3 separate regions of the Homo sapiens genome follow, and regions 1 and 3 are each linked to region 2. The links are contacts of gene promoters, found by promoter capture Hi-C in human tissues and cell types (Jung and others, 2019). All regions are on one chromosome and are shown on one strand. The core of a region is centred on a gene start or on the middle of the fragment in contact, and the rest is flanking DNA. Distances in the headings are between cores, read along the strand shown.

Region 1 (3,607 bases), core at 1,053-3,552, 390 kb before region 2:
GCTCCTGTTGTCCTCAGTACTTTTGCTTGTGTAATCAATCTCCCACCTCCTTCACCCCCAAGTATACTTAATCCCCCAGCCAAGCAGACCCCTCCTTGTCCCCACCCCCCAGCAGACTGCTGCTGCTGACAGCCCCCACATGATATGCCCCCTGTTGGTCTCCAACACCCAGTGCCAGGTCATCCTCCCGACGGGGCCAGATGCTGGGCTGTGATGCCCCTGGCTTCCTGCCCACCTCATATGCCTCTCATGGGTATGTAAATATCTGATGACCTGTCTTATCTGTTCCTTATTTAAATTGTGGGGAGCAGATGCCATGGAAATGGAAACACAAAGGTTAGGCTTTCCTGGGGAACCAGACACACAAGTTTCTTGTTAGCGGTGAACTGGTTTTAAGCAAATTTGCCCTCAACTCCCTGGCAGCACTCCCTGATGGTGCTTCAGCATTCGTGTGGTAAGCTGGACAAGCGGGGGCCCTGTACCCGAATGAGCCCCAAGTACTGCAGGCTGAGGGAAGCCGCTCAGAAGGACACAGCCAATGTGTATCCACCCCCTGGAGACACTGGCTGTGGTCACGTGTTTCTTAGTATTGTGGAATTGTGTAATGTTGGTCCCTTTCACTTTTCACCTAATAAAAATAAGCCAGTGTCAGGACCACTTGCTGAGGCATGTGTACCAATAGGCACAGGCAGCCCAAGTTGTCCCTTGCTCACCCCTGACCCTGACCCCAGGAAGCAGCCTTTGGGGGCTCCCCACTGCCCACAGCGGATGTTTAGCAATGCAACATCTGGAATTTAGTAATAATAAAAAACTATTTTAAAAAGTACTTTTTAAAGGCTGGGTGCGGTGGCTCACGCCTGTAATCCCAGCACTTTGGGAGGCCGAGGCAGTTGGACCACCTGAGATCAGGAGTTCGAGACCAGCCTGACCAACATGATGAAACCCCGTCTCTACTAAAAATACAAAAATTAGCTGGGCGTGGTGGCATGCGCCTGTAATCCCAGTTACTCAGGAGGCTGAGGCAGGAGTATCACTTGAACCCAGGAGGCAGAGGTTGCAGTGAGATGACATTGCGCCACTGCACTCCAGCCTGGGTGACAGAGTGAGACCCTGTCTAAAAAAAAAAAGTACTTTAATCAACTGTAGTCTCAGGAAGCTGTCATTCTTGACCTTCCTACCAGTGAGCTGCTGGGGCTGAACGAGAAACCAATTTTTGAGAGTGTGGGTGTTCAGCCTGGGCACGCCTCTTCATAATTCCATCTGCCCCTGTGTGGATGTTACTGCATGAGTCTGTTAGTCTCAAATTCAGCAGTTTCAGGAGGGAAAACAAGAGTTGATACCAACTGTTGCCAGTGCAGCTGAGATGTCTGTCCATTTCAACCGCTGGTGTCGCCCCACCTCCCTACCCCCATCTGCCTAGGCTTTGAGGGCCATGCTCAGGACTCTTTTTTTTTTTTTTTTAGACAGAGTTTCACTCTTGTTGCCTAGGCTGGAGTGCAATGGCGCAATCTCGGCTCACTGCCTCCCAGGTTCAAGCAATTTTCCTGCCTCAGCCTCCCGAGTAGTTGGGATTACAGGCATCTGCCACCACACCCGGCTAATTTTTTGTATTTAGTAGAGACAGGGTTTCACCCTGTTGGTCAGGCTGGTCTTGAACTCTTGACCTCAGGTGATCCGCCCGCCTCGGCCTCCCAAAGTGCTGGGATTACAGCCATGTGCCACCATGCCCGGCGACATTTTTAATTTTTTATTTTTTATTTTTTTTTTTTTTTAATTAAGACACAGAGTCTCACTGTGTTGCCCAGATTGGCTTCAAACTCCTGGGCTCAAGTGATCCTCACACCTCAGCTTCCGCACACACCACCATGTCTAGGGGTCGCTGAGGACTATTTTTGGGGGGATGAGGTCTTAGTATGTTGCCCAGGTTGGCCTTGAACTCCTGAGCTCAAGTGATCCTCCTGCCTCAGCCTCCCAAGGTGTGGGGTTACAGGCAGGCGCCACTGTGCCTGGCCACTCAGGACTTTTGATTCCTCCAAGCTGAGTCCCAAGGCCGCTGCAGGGCTCAGAGCACCGGCCACCTGGGCATTTCCTTGGAAGCTAATGCTTTCTTCCCACTGACTGGCTCAAACATCTGGGTACAGGGTATGTTTTGGGGTACAGTAGGACAGGGATGAGACAGCAACTGCTCCTCCCTGAAATGCACAAGCCTGGAGCTGAGGGATGCCTGTTCCTGAGTGTCACCTGGAGTGTCCAGGTATCTTTTTATATCAGGAAGTGCAGTCAGTGAGTGCTGTGGGTCCCACCTGTGGGCCACCTGCCTTGATGTCAGGAACACCTCAGCCTTCTAGTCTCGGAGACAAACCAGCCAGTGGCAGGAAAGTAAACAGGATTTCGATTCTGCTCCATCTGTCCTCATCCCGTGACTAGGAATGGCCAAGTCTCAGCCCAGAGGAAACTGTTCATGGTCCTGATCCTGCACCCTGTGGTACCCACGGGCCGCCTCTTGAAGGGCAATCCCATGAGCCGGGGTCCTGGCGTGCTTCTCGATTTAACCCACAGTTCTCACATTTCCCTCTGGCTGAAGTCTGCAGCAGGCCTTATGGTAAAGACCAAACTTCCACAGAGCATTTAAAGCCTGGTGGGGCAGGACATGGTGGCTCACACTTATAATCCCAGTACTTTGGAATCGCTTGAGCCCAAGAGTATGAGACCAACCTGGGCAACACAGTAAGACCCTGTCTCTACAACAACAACAACGGCAAAGATTAAGTCTGGTGGGTATTGATGGAGCCTGGGCAGGCAGCTCGGGGCTTCCTCGAGTTGTTCCCCAGAGCCCTGCACAGCCTCGGGCAGACCCTTTTCTCCCGTTTTACAGATGGGCAGTGGGAAGCTCTAAGAGACAGGGGCCTCCCCAGGGCACACCAGTCACCCACAGCCAGGCTGCATGCCGCCCCACCCCGTACACTGTCCTCACTCATGAAAGGGACCCAGGGCCTGTCCCTCATGGCCGGCACTCATGGGCCCCACACACCCACCTGTGTCATCTGAACAATGACCATTCCTGGCCAGCGCAGGGTCTAGGATGCGCTATGTTCTCAGGGTCTGTCCCGGTGCCTTTCTGTTTTTGTTGATTGAAAAACTGTTTCTGGTGACTGATACATACTAACTGAAATCCCTTTCATCCAGTTCCCCTTATGAGGTTCAGAAGATTCAGTGTCTGGGGGCCTGACTTAGAACACAGGGCTTATCACTCACAGCAGCCTGAAAAGAACGTGGTCCTCCATGTAAACCTGGCATCACCGGATGCACTGCCAGCAGTCCCTGGTGAACCCCAGGAATGGCCTGTCGGAGGTATGCAGGCAGGTCCCTCAAAGCTTGTCTCCTGGGGTCAGCTTCACCACACCACAGTGTCTGGGTGTTCCTGCCCTGCGGTGGTCTCTGAAGGCCAAGGACACCCTCAGCGTATGCATTTCCTCCCAAACCCTCCTTCCCAGAAACAGCTGTCCTCCTCGGTGTCTAGAGGAGCTGTTCTGAGAACAAAATAAACCCTGATTAGTTGCAGAGCTTTGAATTTAGCTGGGAGAACCAGATACGGGCCACAGTCCCT
Region 2 (3,357 bases), core at 92-2,591:
CATAGTGGTGCGCACCTGTAGTCACAGCTACTCAGGAGGCTGAGGCAGGGGAATCACTTGAACCTGGGAGGCGGAGGTTGCAGTGAGCTGAGATCACACCACTGCACTCCAGCCTGGGCAACAAAGTGAGGCTCCGTCTCGAAACAAAACAAAACAGAAACAACAAAAAACACCCGACCTCGCATGCTCCCTCCTCCAAGAAGCCTTCCTTGACGTCCCAGCAGCATTTTCTGGGAAAGACAAACTTGGAGGCCAGGGCTCCTCTGTCCCAACAAGAACAAAAAGGGTTGATGAGGACTTCAGATACTCCCAACATCGTGGCCTTTTCCACAACTCTGCCTTTGGCCTCCGGGAGGCAGTGAAGTTCGGGGATTCCCAGGCTGCATTTAGTGGTTAGGGTAGAGTAGGTTAGAGTAGGTTAGGGTAGCCGTTAGGGTAGAGTAGGTTAGAGTAGGAAGAAAGACATTGTCATAGGAAGTCTCTCTGGCCGGGCGCGGTGGCTTACGCCTGTAATCCCAGCACTTTGGGAGGCTGAGGTGGGCGGATCACTTGAGCCCAGGAGTTCGAGACCAATCTGGGCAACATGGCGAAACCTCATCTCTACCAAAAAACAAACAAACAAACAAACAAACAAAATAGCCTGCCGTGGTGGCGCGCGCCTACTAGTTCCAACTATTCGGGAAGCTGGGTAGGAGGATTGCTGGAGCCTGGGAGGCAGAGGTCGCAGAGAGCCGCGATCCCACCATTGTACTCCAGCCTGGGTGACAGTGAGACCCCACTTCAAAAAAAAAAAAAAAAAAAGGCCGGGCGCGGTGGCTCAAGCCTGTAATCCCAGCACTTTGGAAGCCCCGGCGGCTGGATCACGAGGTCAGGAGATCAAGACCATTCTGGCTAACACGGTGAAACCCCGTCTCTACTAAATATACGAAAAATTAGCCGGGCGTGGTGGCGGGCGCCTGTATTCCCAGCTACTTGGGAGGCTGAGGCAGGAGAACGGCGTGAACCCAGGGGGCGGAGCTTGCAGTGAGCGGAGATCGTGCCACTGCACTCCAGCCTGGGCGACAGTGAGACTCCGCCTCAAAAAAAAAAAAAAAAAAAGGAAGTCTTTCGGATTCCAAAATCAGTCAAAATCAGTGCTCTACACCTTCGGGCGCCGAGGGACAGCGCCCCGTGCGCGCAGCCAGCCTTTTCCCTACAGCTTCAAGGGAACCAAGGTAAATTCAATCATCGAACCCGGGCCCTTTAAGAAGCGAGCATGAAGGGGCGGGGTCGAACCAAACCCCACCTCTGGAGCGTCCGCGGTCGGCGCCTGAATTACAACACGCATGCGCCAAGCCCACGCGGTTCCGGGTCCCAAGATTTGGCTCCAAGAGCTATTCGCAGAGAAACAGCCTCGCACAAAAAGCCACCGCCCCCGAAACCCGCGGGAAATCTGTTTCCTGTGAAAGGCCTGGCCTCCGGGCATTGGCGGTTTCCCTGATCCTCTCTCCCAAATTTTCCGGCAGGGGATTGATCGAGGCGACATTTAGGACTGGGGTGGGCGAGGGAGTGGCGGTTCTCGTCCCAAGTTACAGGTGAGGACGTTCAGGCCAAGGCGTAGCCAAGATCGCGCCGCCCTGTAGCTTGAGGAGGCGCCGGGATTCGAACCAAGGCTGTGCCCAATCCTAAGCCCTGCGAGGTCTTGTGGAACCGACATGACCCACTCTTTGGTTTGTCCAGAGACAGTGAGCAGGTAAGAGTCTGTGGGGACAGGCAGTGGCGAGGCCCTAAGCCTGGGGTCGAGCCCTCAGTGGACAGATCTGGGGGTCAGGCCCTCCGCGGAGCTGAGAGCTGGTCTCAGCCCCTCTCTTCGCCTTGATCCTGGTGCCTCCAGGGTGAGTTCAGTGCTGAATCGCAACACTCGGCAGTTTGGAAAAAAACATCTTTTCGACCAGGATGAGGAGACATGTTGGAACTCAGACCAGGTGAGGCGCCTCCCTCGACCCTCCATCTCTAGGGTGATTCAGATTCAGATCTCATGCCTTGAGAACGTCAGGGGGCCCTCATGGGTGGCCAGGAAAGGAACATGTGCCGAATTTCCTTCTTCCCCTCCATTCCAAGAACTATGTGAATGAGACAGGCATAGCAGGGCTCTGTGCCTGCAGTGAGCTTGCGCCTCAGTTTCCCTGTCTGCTTCCAGGGCCCCTCCCAGTGGGTGACGCTGGAGTTTCCCCAGCTCATCCGTGTCTCCCAGCTGCAGATCCAGTTTCAGGGTGGCTTCTCCAGTCGCCGGGGCTGCCTGGAAGGTACTAGAAGGCCCTGGGTGGCAGGGGTTCCAGGGGTCACCCCAGACACTCATTGCCTTTCTCTGCTGAAGGTTCACAGGGCACTCAGGCTCTCCACAAGATTGTAGATTTCTACCCTGAGGACAACAACTCGCTTCAGATATCCTGCCCCTGCTTCTGGGGTGGGTGGTCTGTGCCTCTGGAAGCTTTGGACTCACCCAAACCCGAATGGGAACCCTGATGTGTGATCTTGAACACGTGACCTCTAGGACTCCACTTTTTCTGTAAAATGGTGCTGATGACCACCTGTTCTGTGTGAGAGGCTTAGAGGGACCTGCAGCTTCCCCAGGTTGCCCACATCGGTGGAGTGTGAGCTGGGTCTGGAAGGGGTGGGGGCCTGCGGGTGGGAAACCAGAAATCACCAGTTTCCCTTGACTGCCCACGCTCACACTTTCCCCATACCAGCTGCTGAAGTGGACCGGCTGAAGGTGACGTTTGAGGATGCCACTGACTTTTTTGGCCGTGTGGTCATCTACCACCTGCGGGTGCTTGGGGAGAAGGTGTGAGACCTCTAGGGGCTGTCTCCTCCAGGAAGCCCTCCGGGAAGCACAGCAAAGTCCCTCATTCTGCACAGAAGGTTTATTGGTTCCTCTTGGGAAGGGTCCCCTCCCACCACCTGTCCAGAAGCTGCCTTTGAAGTCAGTTCTGGGTTTCCCCAGCTCTGGCTGACCATTTTGTTCCCTGAGTGTCTGAGTCCCCGGCAGGCGGCCTTCACTCAGGGTCAGCGGGCACCAGGTTGCTCTGGAAGAGCTTGAGGATGTGGTTCTCGATCACCTGTTGCACTGAGATGGGGCAGGGAAAAGGTGGGCTGTGAGCTTGAATCGGGAGTGGGGTGGAGGCACAGGCCAACCTGCGCTCTCCCCTTAGGGGACAAACAGGGACCCTTGCAGAGACCTGCATTACAGAGCAAAGCTGGGAGAACCGAGGACTCACCCCAGGAACCTCAACTTCCCCTAAGTTTGTAAAAATGCACTTTTGTAGCTTTTCAGAATTAATATAAAAATATTTCCTACCAAGCAAAATGTGTGAATTG
Region 3 (3,515 bases), core at 349-2,848, 260 kb before region 2:
GCCACCACGCCTGGCTAATTTTTGTATTTTTAGTAGAGACGGGGTTTCACCATATTGGCCAGGGGCTGCTATCAAACTCCTGACCTTGTGATCCGCCCACTTTGGCCTCCCAAAGTGCTGGCATTACAGGCGTGAGCCACTGCGCCCAGCCTGAATCTTGCTTCTTTACACTATCTGATAGTCCTTGCCTTTTGATTGAGGTATTTAGATCCTTCACAGTTACTGCATTATTGACATGGCTGGATTGACATTTGCCATTTTGTTTTCTACATGTCCTCTTGTTTGTTCCTTTATTTCTCAGTGAATAAAGAAACTGCCTTCTTTCGTGTTAAATATTTTTTAGTGTATAACTTTAATTCTGATGATCTTTTTTTCTTTTTTTTTGAGATGGAGTCTCGTTCTTTCATCCAGGTTGGAGTGCAGTGGCGCGATCTTGGCTCACTGCAAGCTCCGCCTCCCAGGTTCACACCATTTTCCTGCCTCAGCCTCCCAAGTAGCTGGGACTACAGGTGCCCACCACCATGCCAGGCTAATTTTTTTGTATTTTTAGTAGAGACGGGGTTTCACTGCGTTAGCCAGGATGGTCTTGGTCTCCTGACCTTGTGATCCACCTGCCTCAGCCTCCCAAAGTGCTGGAATTACAGGAGTCAGCCACTGTGCCCAGCCCTGATTTTTTTAAAAAACTATATTTTAAAGTTATTTTGTTCAGAGCTGCTCTAGGCATTACAGTAAGCATCTTAATCACAATCTATATAAGACTGATGCTAACTTGATTCCAGTAAGATACAGAAATTTTGCTCCAATATTGCTCCATTTAATTCCCCATCTTTTGTACTAATATGACATATATTTTATCTGTGGATATTATAAACCCAACAAATCATTCAAAGCCTTTGGTTGGCTTCCAGACTGCAGAACTAGTTAAGTCTTTCCAGTTAACCCATGCATTTACCATTTCCAGTGTTCTTTATTTCTTCTCATAGACTCAAGCTGCCAACGTGTCATTTATTTTCAGGCTGAAGAACTGGCAGGTCTACCAGCAATGGATTCCTTCAGTCTTGTTTACCTGACAATGTCTTTTTTGCTTTCATTTTTGAAGGACTGTTTTTACTGGTATAGAATTCTGGGTTGGCAGTTTTCTTCTTTGGATACTTTTAACATCATTCAACTCCTTTTTGTTTCCATTGTCTCGAGTCAGAAGTCAGCTGTTCATCTTATTAATGCTCCCCAGATGTGCTGAGTTGTTTTTCTTTTGCTACTTTCAAGATTTTCTTCTTTTCTTTGGCTTTCTACAGTTTGACTATGATGTATCTAGGTCAAGATCTCTTTGTACTTATGCTATTTAGGGTTTGTTGGGATTCCTGGATGAGTTTCTCCTCAAGTATGTTTTTGCCCATTATTTCTTCAAATAGTTTTTCTATCTTGCCCCAACCTTGGGCTAAAACAGAGCCGCTGTGTCTCCCCACTTGCCCATCTCCAAGACTGTCACTCTCATCTACAAGACCACAGGCAGGGTTGCTACCACTCTAAAATGAACAGTCCTCCTTTTCACCCACACAGCGAAGCTGTTGGTCCTCAAAGCTGACAGTGGCTGGACAGAACCTCTTTACCAAACAGATGGGAGAGGGCATAGGAATAGCTCCAGGCCAAATGCCATACAGTCTCACTGTTCTCACCTGAAATTCAGCAGTTACAGGCATAAATACTTCTCAGATTGTTGTATGCCCCTGCTCAATTTTTCCAGAATGCTGAGATTGTTTCATTTTGCTTTTGTCAATTCTGCCAATCTCCTCATTCAACACAACCAGAAGTTGCCCTCCACCCTCAATTTATGTAGAATATAAAACACTCACACAAGTTGGGAGACTGAGAGAGAAAAACTGCTGAGTTAAAGAGCGACAGGGAGCGGAGTAAAAGATGGAGGCAGAAAGCTGATTCTACTACTGTATCTGCCTCTGCATGCTCCAAATCATCCAACATAGCAATATGTACACTATACACACACATGCAAACATATATATTTCTTGATGATTCCAATTCACCAGCCACTAAAGAAAAAGGAAATTCTCTCTCCTAGAAGCCATCAGAAACTGCCTCTAGCTTTCAATATGCCCAGATTCGGTCATAAGATGGTAATAAGTTAGCATGAAAGAAAAAAAGGTAGTTTTGAAAAATACCCAAATAGAAACTCTATAAACAAAATACTATACAGCAATGAAAATGGATTAACTACTGGTATGCACAACAATATGGGTAAATCTCACAATGCTGAGTGAAAGCAGGAAGATAAAAGGTACATAGTATATAATCCCACTTATTTAAAGTACCAAAGCAGGAAAAACTAATCCATATTGTCAAGAAAGTGATTACCCTTGGAAGACAGTGGCAGCAAGCAAGCATGAGGGGGCTTCAGAGGTGCTAGCAATATTTTTTTGTTTTTTGAGACAGAGTCTCACTCTTTCCCCAGGCTGAAGTACAGTGGCGCGATCTCGGCTCATTGCAAGCTCCGCCTCCCAGGTTCACACCATTCTCCTGCCTCAGCCTCCCAAGTCACTGGGACTACAGGCACCCGCCACCACACCCAGCTAATTTTTTTGTATTTTTAGTAGAGATGGGGTTTCACCGTGTTAGCCAGGATGGTCTCAATCTCCTGACCTTGTGATCCACCCGCCTCGGCCCCCTAAAGTGCTGGGATTACAGGCGTGAGTCACCGCGCCCAGCTGAACTCTGAGTTTCTTTAACACTTAACTTCTCCCTCACAATCCACTGACCTACCCTGCAGGGGAACATGGTGATTACAGGAGAAAATGCATGTCAGCAACCCAGGAATGCACAAGGGACCCCATGCACATGGACTGCAGATTCCCATGAACATGGACTCCTCCTCTTCCTGCCCTGACTCCACACCAGCCCCTCACTGCTCACCCCTGCTGAGCTGTCATGGACTGGTCTCTGGCTGAAAACATAGAGAAAGGAAAAGGAGACTTGGACCTATAGTTTTATTTCTGGAACTTTAGAAGAGGACCTTGGTTTTAGAATGGGGACTGCAGACAGCAGAGTCAGACAGAAAAGCCCTCTTTGGACAGCAGGACTACAAAGTATATTTCCTCAGACTAGGAGGCTTTGTCAACAGGAGCAGGCTTGGGTTTTCCCATTTATCTTCCCATTTTAAACGCTGTGAACACCAGATGATCTCTGAAGTCCTCAGGATCCCAACAGTTTGGGTTCCAAAAACGAATTTGACATAAGACTGCAGGCTGGGGTCATCCTGTGGGGTTAGCTGACACGGGAAGGTGAGGAGCCACCAGCTGTCCCTTATGAACAGGCGTGGAGAGACAGGCCCTCCACAGGGAGAAGACTCCAGTGGGCGGTGAGGAGAGAGAGCAACGGGCCACAGAGGAGTTTGTCAGAGGGCCAGCCGGGAAGCTGTGGCCACACCACAGCCCTCAGTGGGTGTCTGGGCATGAACATTCTGGAGAGCTCCAAGGGGAGGGGTGATGCAAGAGCAGGTGCTG

The links. Contacts are between HindIII fragments. The study calls those that stand out against the background at their distance.
Region 1: a contact is called between a fragment that was not itself captured here and the fragment with the promoter of NR2C2AP in region 2, in 2 of the 25 tissues and cell types used here (bladder and dorsolateral prefrontal cortex).
Region 3: a fragment that was not itself captured here is called in contact with the fragment with the promoter of NR2C2AP in region 2 in 1 of the 25 tissues and cell types used here (dorsolateral prefrontal cortex).

The regions. Positions count from the first base shown.
Region 1 is chr19:19,592,250-19,595,856 of GRCh38, reverse strand. The region is part of intron 2 of PBX4 (PBX homeobox 4); the gene reads left to right. Among named protein-coding and RNA genes, the nearest start is that of PBX4, 25 kb to the left of the region's middle. RefSeq lists an enhancer at 2,617-3,241. The HindIII fragment of the contact is 8,394 bases long and covers 1-3,607 here.
Region 2 is chr19:19,201,398-19,204,754 of GRCh38, reverse strand. It overlaps NR2C2AP (nuclear receptor 2C2 associated protein), which reads left to right and starts at 1,341. Exons shown (of 5, transcript NM_176880.6): 1 at 1,341-1,732; 2 at 1,874-1,964; 3 at 2,180-2,285; 4 at 2,357-2,424; 5 at 2,714-3,346. The coding sequence starts at 1,695. The coding sequence ends at 2,830. It overlaps RFXANK (regulatory factor X associated ankyrin containing protein), which reads right to left. Exons shown (of 10, transcript NM_003721.4): 10 at 2,889-3,106. The coding sequence ends at 3,036. RefSeq lists an enhancer at 1,141-1,435 and a silencer at 2,099-2,365. The HindIII fragment of the contact is 14,823 bases long and covers 1-3,357 here.
Region 3 is chr19:19,466,301-19,469,815 of GRCh38, reverse strand. The region is part of intron 2 of GATAD2A (GATA zinc finger domain containing 2A); the gene reads right to left. Among named protein-coding and RNA genes, the nearest start is that of MIR640, 33 kb to the right of the region's middle. The HindIII fragment of the contact is 7,140 bases long and covers 1-3,515 here.